3 separate regions of the Homo sapiens genome follow, and all the other regions are linked to region 1. The links are contacts of gene promoters, found by promoter capture Hi-C in blood cells and fetal thymus (Javierre and others, 2016). All regions are on one chromosome and are shown on one strand. The core of a region is centred on a gene start or on the middle of the fragment in contact, and the rest is flanking DNA. Distances in the headings are between cores, read along the strand shown.

What was found. Contacts are between HindIII fragments. The CHiCAGO score rates a contact against its expected background, and 5 or more counts as called.
Region 2: a contact is called between the fragment with the promoter of PDGFRA here and the fragment with the promoter of DCUN1D4 in region 1, in 2 of 17 cell types (naive CD8 T cells and total B cells). The highest score is 6.3, in naive CD8 T cells.
Region 3: a contact is called between a fragment that was not itself captured here and the fragment with the promoter of DCUN1D4 in region 1, in 1 of 17 cell types (non-activated CD4 T cells). The highest score is 5.9, in non-activated CD4 T cells.

The regions. Positions count from the first base shown.
Region 1 is chr4:51,841,435-51,845,589 of GRCh38, forward strand. It overlaps DCUN1D4 (defective in cullin neddylation 1 domain containing 4), which reads left to right and starts at 1,719. Exons shown (of 11, transcript NM_001040402.3): 1 at 1,719-1,833. The coding sequence starts at 1,809. RefSeq lists silencers at 1,447-1,596, 1,607-1,656, 1,747-2,096, 2,197-2,276, 2,827-2,946. The HindIII fragment of the contact is 3,870 bases long and covers 1-2,857 here.
Region 2 is chr4:54,226,918-54,231,072 of GRCh38, forward strand. PDGFRA (platelet derived growth factor receptor alpha) reads left to right here and starts at 2,376. Exons shown (of 23, transcript NM_006206.6): 1 at 2,376-2,498. RefSeq lists enhancers at 1-20, 849-1,674. The HindIII fragment of the contact is 8,996 bases long and covers 1,514-4,155 here.
Region 3 is chr4:54,092,202-54,096,356 of GRCh38, forward strand. No RefSeq gene overlaps it. Among named protein-coding and RNA genes, the nearest start is that of GSX2, 5.9 kb to the right of the region's middle. RefSeq lists enhancers at 823-1,442, 3,630-4,155. The HindIII fragment of the contact is 557 bases long and covers 1,743-2,299 here.

The sequences.
Region 1 (4,155 bases), core at 469-2,968:
AGAGTCCAGAGGTACCTACCCATCACTGTGGGGCCCCGCTGAGGTACTGTCATGATAAAGGTGATCAATAAGGATGTTCTATGAGAGATTCTTGTCTTGCGAAAGAACCTGAAGCAAATAATAAATAACTTCAGGTACAGTTCTGAGATTCCATAAAGTGATTCATAAATGTTTGAATGATAAAAATATTATATAAATAGTATTATAAGGATGTAATTTATTAAAGAGAAATTAGCGATTAAGATGGAGGGAGCATTTTACCATGGGAGTGCTGTGGGACACAGAAACTGGTTTGTCTGAGCCCCTTCCAAATAGCATAACATTTGTGTCCTGATTTAAAATCTAAATTTCAGAGCCTGGAAACCCAAAAGCCTGGGCTGTAGAAATCTAAAACCAAAAAGACCGTGCGTTCTGTTACCTGTGATTTGTGGTGTCACCTACTCTTTGAGGCTCCCAGATGGCCCAGGGCCTTAGGATATGGGGATGCCTTGTAGGTGTGTTGTTGTTGGAGTTGGTGGCTGGGATGAGGGTGGAGGCAGGGTAGGGTGGGGGTGGGTTGGGGTGGGGGGAATCCTCCGTTAATATCTCGAAATATTGTTCTGTTACCATAATGCGGTGTGATAAGTTAGCTTCAAGTATTGAAAAATCAGGGCAGGACTCATGGAAATGGTGCGAATTCTTGACTTAGGGTCAGAAGAATTCACCAAAATTAACGTCTCCCTCTGCCAAATAACAGCCAGTTTCAATTTCTGGACGGCCTCTCCGCGGGAGTGACAGGTTTTCTTAGATGCCGCCGGGGGTCTTTCACGGGCTGGTGGTCTGCCCCCTGGACTCGTCCATGTGTTAGGCTCAGTCCGCAGCTCAGAGCGCGGCCCTGTATTTCTGTCTGATGTCTGGGGCATACAGATGTGTGTGACGGACAATGCTCGTGGCATTCGAAGCCTCTTTAACAGACATTAGTGACTAGAGGAAAGAAGTGTGCGAACTCTGCGAAACAAGTATGCGGACTCTGGAAAAGAAGTACATTTCGAAAGTGGGGAGAGGATGGATCTTCGTAGGAGAAATGGAAATTTGCTCCCCACCAGAAGGTTTGCTGGAAATTAAGACGCGGCAATTCTTAATCCAGTTTCCTGCGGTAGGAAGCAGCTGACAAGAGAAGTCCCAGTCCGAGTTCGGCGCGAACTGGACAAGTGTCGTGGGACAAGTGGCGGGAGACCCGGCCGCGTCGCGCCGGGCGCTAGGGACGGACGCATTTCCCTACTTCCAGCAGCTGGTACGAGCCGCCCCCAACTGCGCTGCGCTGCTCTATTCTTTGGGAAACACTTCGCGTGCTTTGTTTCAGACGCCGACCCATCTTTCTTGGTGGGTCTCCAGCTCCACCAATCCCGCCCGCCACTGGGCGGGGTTTCAGGGTCAAGGTGGACCAATTTCCCAGCTTCGCCCCTACACGCGCTCTCGGACCCCTGGGGGTGACTGACAGCAGCCGGGCCCAACCCGCTGCTCCGGAGCATGGCCTCCGCCAGGGGCGTTACGGAGACAAGGCCCCAGGACCAATCGTATTGGCCAGTGGGGGGCGGGGCCTCGTTGCCAGCTCCAGACCGGCGCTATGGGCACTCCTTTTGTCAAATGAGAGACGCAGCAGGGCGGCCCCTGAGCCGCGGTTTAGCCAATGGAGAAGGCGAGATGGGCGGGCTGGGAGTGCCCGGCGGCGGGTCCTCAGCTTCGAGCCGAGGTGCAGTGAGCTGGTGGGGGGACCGCGAGGCGAGCGCGGGAGCCTGGGCGGCGAGCCGGGTGTGAGCTGCCTGAAAATGCACTCGGATGCCGCCGCTGTCAGTGAGTAGCAGAGAGCCAGCCAGCGGGCCGGGGCCGGGCGGCTGCCAAACTCGCCACTCGGCTCCCGCAGTCCCCGCCCCACGCCTCGGGTCCCGAAACGCGCCGGGAGCCCCTGCCTGGGAACCACCCCTTCCCCTCCCGGGGCCGGGGCGGGCGGTGACGCTGCGGGCGGCGTGGGGCGGGGGCGGGCGTGGGGGGAAGGGACCGGCCTGCGGGGAGGGCGGAGGTGAGGGGGGTGGGGACTGGCTCTCTTTCAGTGTTGGGGGAAGGGAGGGCTGGACGTGCGATGAAGGGCCGAGATCGGAGTGTCCGGGGTGCATGGAGGTGGAGGCAGCGTTGGGCTGTAGCGGGCAGGGCCGGGGATGTGGGGGGGTGGCACCGGCGGGGAGAGGGAGGGAGCGAGCGAGCGAGCGGGGCACAAGGGTGAGGATTTCCAAAGGGCTGAGTGGTGCGGGCGGCTCCGTGAGAAAGGCGGGTGAGTGCGAGGGGGGCGCGGGGGCGGGGACAATGGGAAGAAGGGCTGGTTGGCGGGGGGGTGGGGGGGGGGCGGCGAACAATGGGGTGGGGGAATGGGGGCAGCGGCCGAGCGGGGCAGGAGGGCGGGCGACTGGACGAGGGCTGATGTAACGGGAAAGCGAGGTGGTGGGAGGGACTGGGGTGTAATGGTAGTTGGGGAGTCCTGCGGGGCGGGAGGGGCGTTGGAAGGGCGGTGGGTAACGGAGAGTGGTGGGAGTGGAAGATGTTGGGGTAAAGAGATGGGGCAGGTGTGGAAGGGTAGGGCGATTGGGAGGAAGAGGAGAAAAAGGTGGGTAGGATTTGGGGTGGCAGAGTGGGGGCAGGGGTGGAGAATATGAAATGGGGGTGAGGAGCTAGTCGGGGAGGAAGGGGAGGTGGGGCGGAGTTGGGCAGGAGGACTGTCACGTCCAGATTCGGTCCGGAGCCGGGCTAAGGGGGTGTCAGACTGTGCTTAGGGGAGGTACTTCCTCTCCCTGTCGAGGCAGGGTCCCTTGAAGGGGGGAGTCCAAGCTTCGGGGTGCGGAGAGAGGAGGGGGCGGGGCTGAGGTGGAGGAGACGGGGTAAGTGCCCTAAGGTTGGAACTGGCCGTGGTTCCCCCCGGACGGCGGGAAGCGAGGTCAGCGCTGGCGCGGGCTCCGGCAGCGGGACTAGGAGGCGGGGCAGGGGTGCGGGCTGCGGGGTTTCAGCAGCGGGAGCCGGAGGGGTCGGGCCCTGATGGCCGGGTCGGGGGCTTGGCGCCGGGGAGGTGTCGGGGTCCCTGGCAGTCCGTGGGTTTGATAGTCTGTGACGCAGTTGTCTAATTTCTGGCTATCAGGTGTGGGGGTTGGTGCCATGGAACCCGCTTCCTTAGAGGGATGGCCGGGCCCTAGGCCGCGCCCCACGCCCGGGGGGCGCGACTTCTCCCAGGCGTGCTGGGAGGGCGCTTGAGGGGTTTCCTTTAGGGTTTGTCTCCAGTCAACGGGTATGAAGGGGAAAGGCGGTCCCGCCGAATTCTGGGACTTGTAGTCGCGGCCGCGCCCGGCCGCGGTTGGGTTGGGTGCACGTGGGTAACTGTGGAAACGGGTCCCGGCATGCAGCGCGCCCTTGGAGCCTTCCTGCTCGGCCAACTCGTGCTTTATTCCCCGGCCAGCTCCTGCGCGCTCTCGGGAGGCGGTTGAGTTCCCAGGGACGGAGCGACTCCCCAGCCCTTCTCCCTTGGGAGAGGGAGAGCCCACGCCAGGCGCAGCCCTCTTCACGCTTAGGTTCTTGGTCCCCAAGTGAATTTCCCCCTGCATTTTGTGGCCTTACTTGTGGAATAAATGCTTGGTCTTGTACCATCATGCGCACGGGTTGTGGGAAAACATTTAAGAAGCAACACAATGTAAAGCAGCCTTTAGAATGGTGTATTTAATTTTGGCATCCAGTGTGTGTAAGCACTGGGTTCCAGCATTCCCTTGCATAAATATGAGAACACAGTGGAGGTACACGTAACCCTTGTAACGATAATATAAACTATGTGTTGGTATTTCTTGGGGTGTTTGAAAAAATAACTGTCTTGAAATGAGTGATGGAGGTGGGTTAGTGGAATTTAGGGTGGAAATGTGAAGGTGAGCAAAGGTAATATGTGACGTCTTCAATTTTCGAAGAAGCTTGGAAAGCAAATGAGAATAGAAGAAAACTGTAAAAAGTGGAGAACCATAAGACTTTTTTTGTTTGCTTGTTTTATTATTAGCTGCAGGCTGCAATTCCTTCTCTCCTTAATACTAGAAACCTTCCTCTCCATAAGTAGACTCCCTAAACGTCACATCCTTCACCAGTTCCCTTTAC
Region 2 (4,155 bases), core at 1,126-3,625, 2.4 Mb after region 1:
GGGCGCAGACCCGACTTCTCCCGAACCAGCCTCGGACCAGCCTTAGAAGGCGGAAAACAGGATTCAAACCCGCCTATGAGCAGTGGTAGGGGCGGGGGCTGTGGGGGCAGGACTCGGTTTAAGGAACCAACCGCCTCGGTTCGAGGGCCTCCTGTCCGGAGGTTGCTCCTGACCACTGGGTTTATTTTGCTTTTGCAGAGGAGGCAGATGTTGACCTCTCTTCTTTGCACAGTCTCTCCGCAAAATTTTCCCCCAACCATTTGCTTTCTTGCGCCACCCCCCACCGGGGCACTATCCCTGGAGTCAGCTCCTCAGGCCTTTAAACCTTCCAGAATGTCACACATGGAAACCTTTAGCAAATGTTTGTTAATGATCATAACAAAGGCATCATTCAAATTAGGCAGGTAATTACTACCAGAAGGACAACTGGGTGCTCGCTTGCTCATCCATTGCTTTCTGCTTTAAACTCCCGAGGAGTCGCTGCCTGGAGACACTCCCGCCCGGACTGCTTCTCGGGCCCCATTAAACGGCTCTGAAATGAACTGTGAAGTTACCATTTGTGGGCGGAGAGCGCTGGGGCCCTGCGGACGGAAGACCCTGGCTTGACCGGACTAACAGTGTCGCCGAAGCAAAGCAGCCCCTCTGGGTAGGCTGTCTGTCTCGCCTCCTACCCTCTGGGGCAACTAGCCTAAAAACCCGGTTCTCAACTTAACAGCATGTGGCCCAGCACCCGCTTTTGCCTTTTATTCCGCACTCTGATTTTTGGGGGGATCGTTTGTTCCCGCTCATTTTCTACAAACATTACGGTATCCTGTTAGCATTCCGAACAAGGGGCTGTTCATATATTTGCCTTCAATGATTTCCTGAAGGGACATGTGGAAGTAATAGCGAGCGGTGCAGTCACCCAAGCTGAAGATGCACGAGAGCGGGTCGCGTAGAAGAACTGCGGCAATGGGACCCCCAGCGCAGCCCCAGGCGCCCTGTTTTCGAGGCTGACATCCCAAGATCCTGTCCTGGTTAGGCACAGCACCGCGCCCGTTGGAGTACTTCTCTGTGACTCTCCCCTGTCCACTGCACTGTGTCCACCCTCCTGGTGAAGGAGGAGACGGCTGTTGGACATGCCAGTCCCAACCTGGCCACTTTGGCCATTTTCAGAGTGCGTGTGTTGGGGTGGGGTTGAGGGAGAAGGATGAAGGATGACCCCCAACCCCAACAGGAGAATTCAAAAATCAGAGAGCGATGAAGGTGAACGCGCTCCCCTCCCCCGCTGTCGCTGGGAAGCCCCACTCTGCCCAGGTCTGGTTCCTGGAGCATCAGCGCCCCCTTTCCCTCGCCGGCAGGATCGTTTCCTCCCGACACTGGCCTCTCGCCTTGGGCGCAGGGTTTGGGGCTCAGCTGTCAATTCCAAGGAATTCGTAGGGTTCGACCCACGCGGCGGGAGGGAACGGAGGGAGAATCAAAAGGCATCCTCCCCCACGACGCGGAGGCGGTGGTACGATTCCTCAAACGCCCAAGCTTGAGCTTTTTTTGTATGCGAGATAGAAGCCAGGGCAACCTCGCCCAGATAACCCCGAAAACAAAGGCACGACCAGATAAGTGACTTCAAGGGAGTAAAGGTCGTTCTATCGGAGAACGTTCCAAACCTACACAGACCCTCTTTTCTTTGTACCGTATTTCAGACCACCCAGTCTTGTACACACACACACACCACACAAAACAAAAACCCATCATTGTCATATTGGACTCAACAGTTTGCCCAATCCTATTAAATAACTAGCAACTATATAGCCCTTCCCCTAAAAGACCCCTAGTTCAAAACGGCGCAACCGCTTGGAGATTTCTCCCGAGGGCCCTATTTCTCGTTGGGCCGAGTTTGTAGAAGGGACATTTCTTGATTCTAGATTTATATTCTCTCTGGGTATTAAATGCAATTTTGTATGTTCCTTTTCTTCTTTTCAAAGAGAATACAAAACTATAGCAGTCTAAGAAAATAACCCCAAAATGGGGAGGCAAACTCATTCTGGAAATGATGGGCTGTTTGTAGTTTCACAAAACCTCTTTCCCGGCAGAGCACCAACACCTCCCCCTTCCACCACCCCCCATCCCATCTGGTCTGCTTCTCCCCGCCCCCCAGTTGTTGTCGAAGTCTGGGGGTTGGGACTGGACCCCCTGATTGCGTAAGAGCAAAAAGCGAAGGCGCAATCTGGACACTGGGAGATTCGGAGCGCAGGGAGTTTGAGAGAAACTTTTATTTTGAAGAGACCAAGGTTGAGGGGGGGCTTATTTCCTGACAGCTATTTACTTAGAGCAAATGATTAGTTTTAGAAGGATGGACTATAACATTGAATCAATTACAAAACGCGGTTTTTGAGCCCATTACTGTTGGAGCTACAGGGAGAGAAACAGAGGAGGAGACTGCAAGAGATCATTGGAGGCCGTGGGCACGCTCTTTACTCCATGTGTGGGACATTCATTGCGGAATAACATCGGAGGAGAAGGTAAGGGAAAAGAAAAAATGATTTTTTGTTTATAAGGGAAGTCCCTGATCAGACTCTGGGACTGGAGAAAGCGAAGTAACTTCAAACTTTGGGCGACAAGAAAAAAAAAAAGGAGCTGGATTCCAGTTGTGTGTCCAGAGAGTAATTTTTTTTTTTCGGAATAAACTTCACTTGGGGACGGGTGGGAGATAACCATAGAGTTAGAAAGTCTAGGTATTTTTTTTAAACACACATTTTCCAGACCTATTTTTAAAAACAATGTTTTTCTAACAACCCTATGGCCTCCCAAAGAAATTGTTTAGGCTTACATTTTTGAGGTTTCTTTTGGGAGTGGGGGTGGTGTTCGTGAATACTGGGCCGAACACCAAGGAACTGGGGGTGGAGGCAGAGGTGTTTGCCCTCTTCTTGGCAGTGGGTCCTGGAAGGCGACAGGTTTTAAATGAGTGTTTTCATTCCTCGCCTGCGGTTTGGCGGGACAGCGCTGCAGCCCATGGTGTGGAGCGCGGCTGGGGGACCAGGGGGAGGTGGGGAGAGGGGAGCGTGGAGGGGAGCGTGGAGGGGGGCGCGCGAAGGGGTTGCGGGGCGCAGGAGGCGGGCTGGGCTCGGCTGGAGACCGGACCTCGGTGTTGGCCTACAGCACAGGGAGCCGGCCGAATGCGCGTGATTACTGGACGGCGCTGCTCTGGGAGAGAGTCGGGGCCAGATTTGGCGCGGCGGTGAGGCGGCTGCGGGACAAGCAGAGGCGCGCGGGCGTGGGCAAGGGTTTGGGGCGCTCTGGAGCGGTTTGTTGGGTCAGTGAGGTGCCAGGGAGAGCGGGTGCCTGCCGGGCAGTGTGCTCGGGTTGCACGCCCTAGCGCGGGGGCGACAGCGGCGGCGCGGGCGGGCGGTCTGGAATAATGACAAACACATTTGGCCCTGAGTGAAGAAGTCGTCGTCGCCTCGCATTCCAGCAACTGGGATTTGAGGAATTTCGAACCGCACACCAAGGGGCCCTCATTGTGCTCCGTGGCCCCCGCCCCCGCCTGTCTTCCCGCGCCCCCTCCTCGGTGGAATCATTTCTGCATTGCCCGGGGGCTCTGCTTTCGCTCAGTTCTGGCCGCAGGCAGGAAGAGAGGAAAGGTCTCCAGGAAGGTGCCGAACTTCTTGTGAGGAAGTTAGGGACGACTTGGAACTGGGGAAACTTGTTTGCAGGTAAGACAGAAAGGTGGGAGGTAAACCATATTCTCCCTCCGGGCACCCGAGCCCTGGACACCCCCTACCCGGCACCCTTCTCCGCGCGGGGGTGCGTGGCACTTGCCGTCTGAGCTCGCCCAGCGCTGCTCGGTCCTCTCTAGTTGGCCTTTTTTCCATTCCTCTCCCTGCCGGCTTCAGAGCCGTCTGTGCGTACTTCTCCTTCCTCTGCTGTCTACCCCCATGGAAACCAGATTTACACACGAAATTAACTCCGCCCGGCTGCGCCCAGGGAGCGGGCGGCGTCCATTTGGCATTGAATATGTGGGATCAGCTGTTCTATTCCGGGAGGGTGTCGGCCAGGTCGGAGCGACGAGTGTGGCCCAACCCGAGTACGTTGCCAGAGGGAGCCAGGAGCCTGGGCCGGGCCAGGTGTGCGAGAGCTGCCGATGGCCTGGCCTCGCGTCTTGGTCGGGAAGGACTTGCT
Region 3 (4,155 bases), core at 771-3,270, 2.3 Mb after region 1:
CGCGCAGAGAGCACCTCGCGCAGCCCCAGAGCCTGTTTGTTTACCCTCTTCCTCGGAGCGGCTTCTCCAGCGTCTCATTTCTTCTGCCTCCCTTGCCCTCGCCCAGGTGTGGGACGCGGGCGAGTGAGGACAGACTTACAACCGTCCTCGGCCGCGCAGCACAGGGTTCCCGCGCCCTGTCCCTATGCCCCGGGGACACAGGGCAGGAGGCTGAAAAAGGGACTCAGCGTTAGAAACTATGGTTGGAATTCTCCCCCTGCCACTTGCTATGTGGCCTTGGCCAGTTTACCGTTGTCTCGGAGCCTCCGTTTCCTATCTGAAATAAGGAATCATTCATTCAACAAATATTAATTGCCATCCTAATATATGTCACCTCTGGTCTGGACATTTGGCATACACTGGTGAATACATAAAACAGACCCAGTTTCTGCCCAGGAGCAGTTTGCAGTCAACAAGCATACGGATTGATTATGAAGAGGGCTTTTGAATTAAATAATAAAATATTGCTTTCATCCACTCCAAATGTTTTTCAGCGCTTACTGTGTTCTGGGCACAGGTGAATAAAAACAATCATGTTCCCTGTCCTCATTCTAATTTCAGTCCGTACATTGGACTGGCCCTCAGAACCTTTAATATGTAGGAAAACCAACCACACTAACCAACAAATGGACAGCCAACAAATAAGGAAGTAATAAAAGCACCTACCTCACAGGGTTGCTGTGAGAAATAAAGGAGGCATTAAAGTCTTCAGCCACTGCCAGGCATATAGTAGGTGTTCAATAAATGCTAGGTGTTATCAGGTGGTTAGTATTGCTTAGTGCCTAAAAGGCTCTGCCATCACTAGCTGTGTGACCTTGGTTCAGTCTTTGAACTTCAGTAGTTCAAATAGGGTTCTCCGCAAACATAATGAGGAGAAAATAATGGCATTTTATCTGGGAGGGCTGTTGTGCGGATTAATGAGGTCATGCAGGCAAGGCTCTTGGTTCAAGAACTGCCACACAGTGAGAGCTCAGAAAATGTACCTACGAGTATTGTCATATACTCGAAAGGCGACTGTTTTCCTCCTATGCAAAGCAGGTGGGTGTGCAGCAAAGCTGGGAGGTTTCTAATATCATAGGAACGTTTTGAAATTTAGGGCGCAGTCCCAAGTAGGGACGGCCAGGACGCCAGAGCCTTTGACGGGGGTGGGGAGTGGCGAGGTTAATGTAACTGCTGAACAAACATATGCCCGGAAACCGAGGGATAGAAAGGCCCCACACTGGGCGCCTTCAGGGTGCGAGCGCCAGGCTGTGGAGGAGCCTTAGAGGGCAACACTCGGCCGGGAAAAGGCGCGGGGGGACGGAGAGATGATTGTGCAGCGGCTTCCTGGCTCCTAGTTGCCAAGCCCAGGGACTCTGATACCTAATTTACAAGCTTCAAGAGCCTATGGAGCTGCAGGTCTCAGATAATAATAAAACCAACAAGAGAAGCCACGAGCCTTACCAGGCACCAGGCCCGGTGTTAGGCAGTCCTGAATTCCTCACAAAAACTCGAAGACGATGGCATTTTCTCTATTTTACAGATGCAGAAACTGAAATTCTTTCTCCACTTTCCTAGGCCTCCTTTCAGTTTTTGCAATTAACCAAGAGAAACTCTCGGAGGCTCCCGTGAGCACCCTTAGGTGGCCGGGAACGCATTCCCCATCCCTCTTTCCCAGGCCAACACCCGCACATCTTGCAGGTCTCCGTTTAAATGTCACTTCAAGCTTCGGTTTTATCATCACCCAGAGCCCCTTGAGCTTTTCTTTCATATTCACACGACCTTTTTAACTCACCAGCTCCGAGTTAATTTGTTGATTCGCTTAACCTGGAAACTCCCCGGGGGCGGGTCTTGTGCTACTGAATTCCCTTGCGCGCAGCCTGGGGTATAATAGGCGCTCAATACACACTTTCCAACTATCAAATGACCAGATAAGGCTCAAAAAAGTTACGTTGCTCTCTTCAGATTCCATGGTAGGAGGGCGTAGGGGGCAGGATTTATCAGTTATTTCTCAACTACATCAGAACCGCATGCAGAATTCTGGTTGACTTCTGTCTCCCCCTCCATCTACACCCCGCCGTGTTCCAGCCTCACATCATTAAATCGAAATCCCTTAGGTAATCAGTATTTTTATAAAGCTCTCCAGGTGATTTTTGTAGATGACCAAGATCAAAAACCAGAAGGGCTGGGCTGCTAAAAATTATAAAGAATTGCTCTTATTTTAGTGACTTTTTTTTTTTTAAGTCTTTGCTCCCATAACTAAGCAGCTATTTTGGCTCCAAGCTTTCAGAAAATTTAGGCCAAGGGAAGTGGGGAATTGGTATGCATGTGAATAATTCAACCCTCCTCTTACACACTCCTGCCTCCCCCGCCCGCCCTCCAATACAAAAACCACATCTCTGAATAGGGTAGTAAAAAATAGTAAGTGCCAGGAGAACTGGAGAGGGAGGGAGGGAGGTGAAGCATTTGCTTCAATTATCCGGATAATTGTTCCCCACCTCAGGCCATTGTTACTGAAATGAAACAATATTCTATTGGATACTGTCTTGGCCTTTTCAGGCCTGCTCCCTGCAGTGCCTAGCACACGCTGGGCACAGAGTAGGCGCTCGATAAATTTTATTCTGATGACAGAGGAGAGCTCTGAGGGTGGGAGAGGGATGCCTTGTTCGGCTTGAGGATTTGGGGGTGGGCGAATATTAATTAAAGTGAAGTGGGGAGCAGAGGGGCTGTGTGGCAGGCATTCAGTGCCATCACAACTTTTTTCCAACTGGGCCGTTCCTGAAATTCTAAGCCAAACCCCTCACTTATTTCTCAGAAGACCTCCACTACCACCCCCCACCCCCCTCTCCCCGCTGCTTCTTCTCAGAGGGCCGAATTGAACTCTTGCAACTGTGGTGAGCACAAAGGCGAATTCAGGTTTCTCAAAAGCCCATCCGTTCTGAATAAACACCAGGGAGAAGCAAGATTATTTTTGGTGGTGCATGAACACAGGGCCCACAGCCTGCCCTCCCTCTAGAAAGGCCTTCCCTGGCCTTGCATTAAAACTAACAATATTGGGGCAGCTGAAGGAATAGCCTGGCTCCTGAGCCCCCCATCACTCAAGCAGTACAAGAATGTGGGGACTAGCTCCCAACTGCCCTCTTTCATCTTGACCCACAGCTTTTCAAGAGGAGCTTGAGTTCTCTATGAGTGTGTATTTGCTAATTGCAGCCGGGGCTTTAATGAGATTCTTTTAACTCCCCCAAGCTCGTTTGCAGGTTATAGCCTTATCTGGGGACCCACGTTTTCCACCCTGGCTACACATCCTGTGAACAATTGCCTCTCCAGAGCCTGAAAGGAGAGCGAGCGCCCCATTTCTGCTGAATACACTTCTCAGTTCATCCAAGGCTGGCGGGCTTTTGATGGCCACAATGCAAGTTACGCCCAAAGAGTGTCTCTTTGGTCAGATCGACAACGCTTGGCTTCACGTTTGCAAGTTAAACGGGCAGAAACCCGGCTGAAACTCCCACGCCAGACGCCAGGGACGTTTCCCTCCGCCCTGCTCAGAGCAAAACTGGGGAATGGGTCTGGGCGGGGGGAGGAAAGAAAGGAGGGGTAGTTGTGAGCAGAGGGTGGGGGAGAAGAGAGTCCTTATTCTCAACAGCCATCTAGAAGAAGAAAGGGGGGGGGGCATTTTCTCTGGCATTTCTTATTTTTATTTTTTCCATTTTGCTTTGTTGGCAGCTTTACCCAAACAAAAAATAAAATAAAATGAGAGCATTTTCTTCTTGTCTTCACCTAGGTAGCTGCTTTCCTCCAGCCCCTGAAAATGTGACTCCTTCATAAAATCAAAATTTATGATTATTCAAATGTTGGGGACTGTGAAAAGAGAGGAAGAAAGAGAGAAAATTAATATTGCAGCTGTTCTTCTGATTAATGAGAGATAATTGCTCATGAAAAGTCACCCCTGTGGCATTTTGTTGTCTCCTGGATCTTTGTTCTTTTCCACTATTATTGAGGACTTTCTTGAAGACTAAGCGGTTCTTTTCAATTTTTGGGTATTCAGAAAGGGTTGCCTGGTTACAGAGAATGGGGAAATCTCGGGCTATATCGGGTAAGATGTGCCACAGACAGCAATATCACAATGCCACTCGGAGA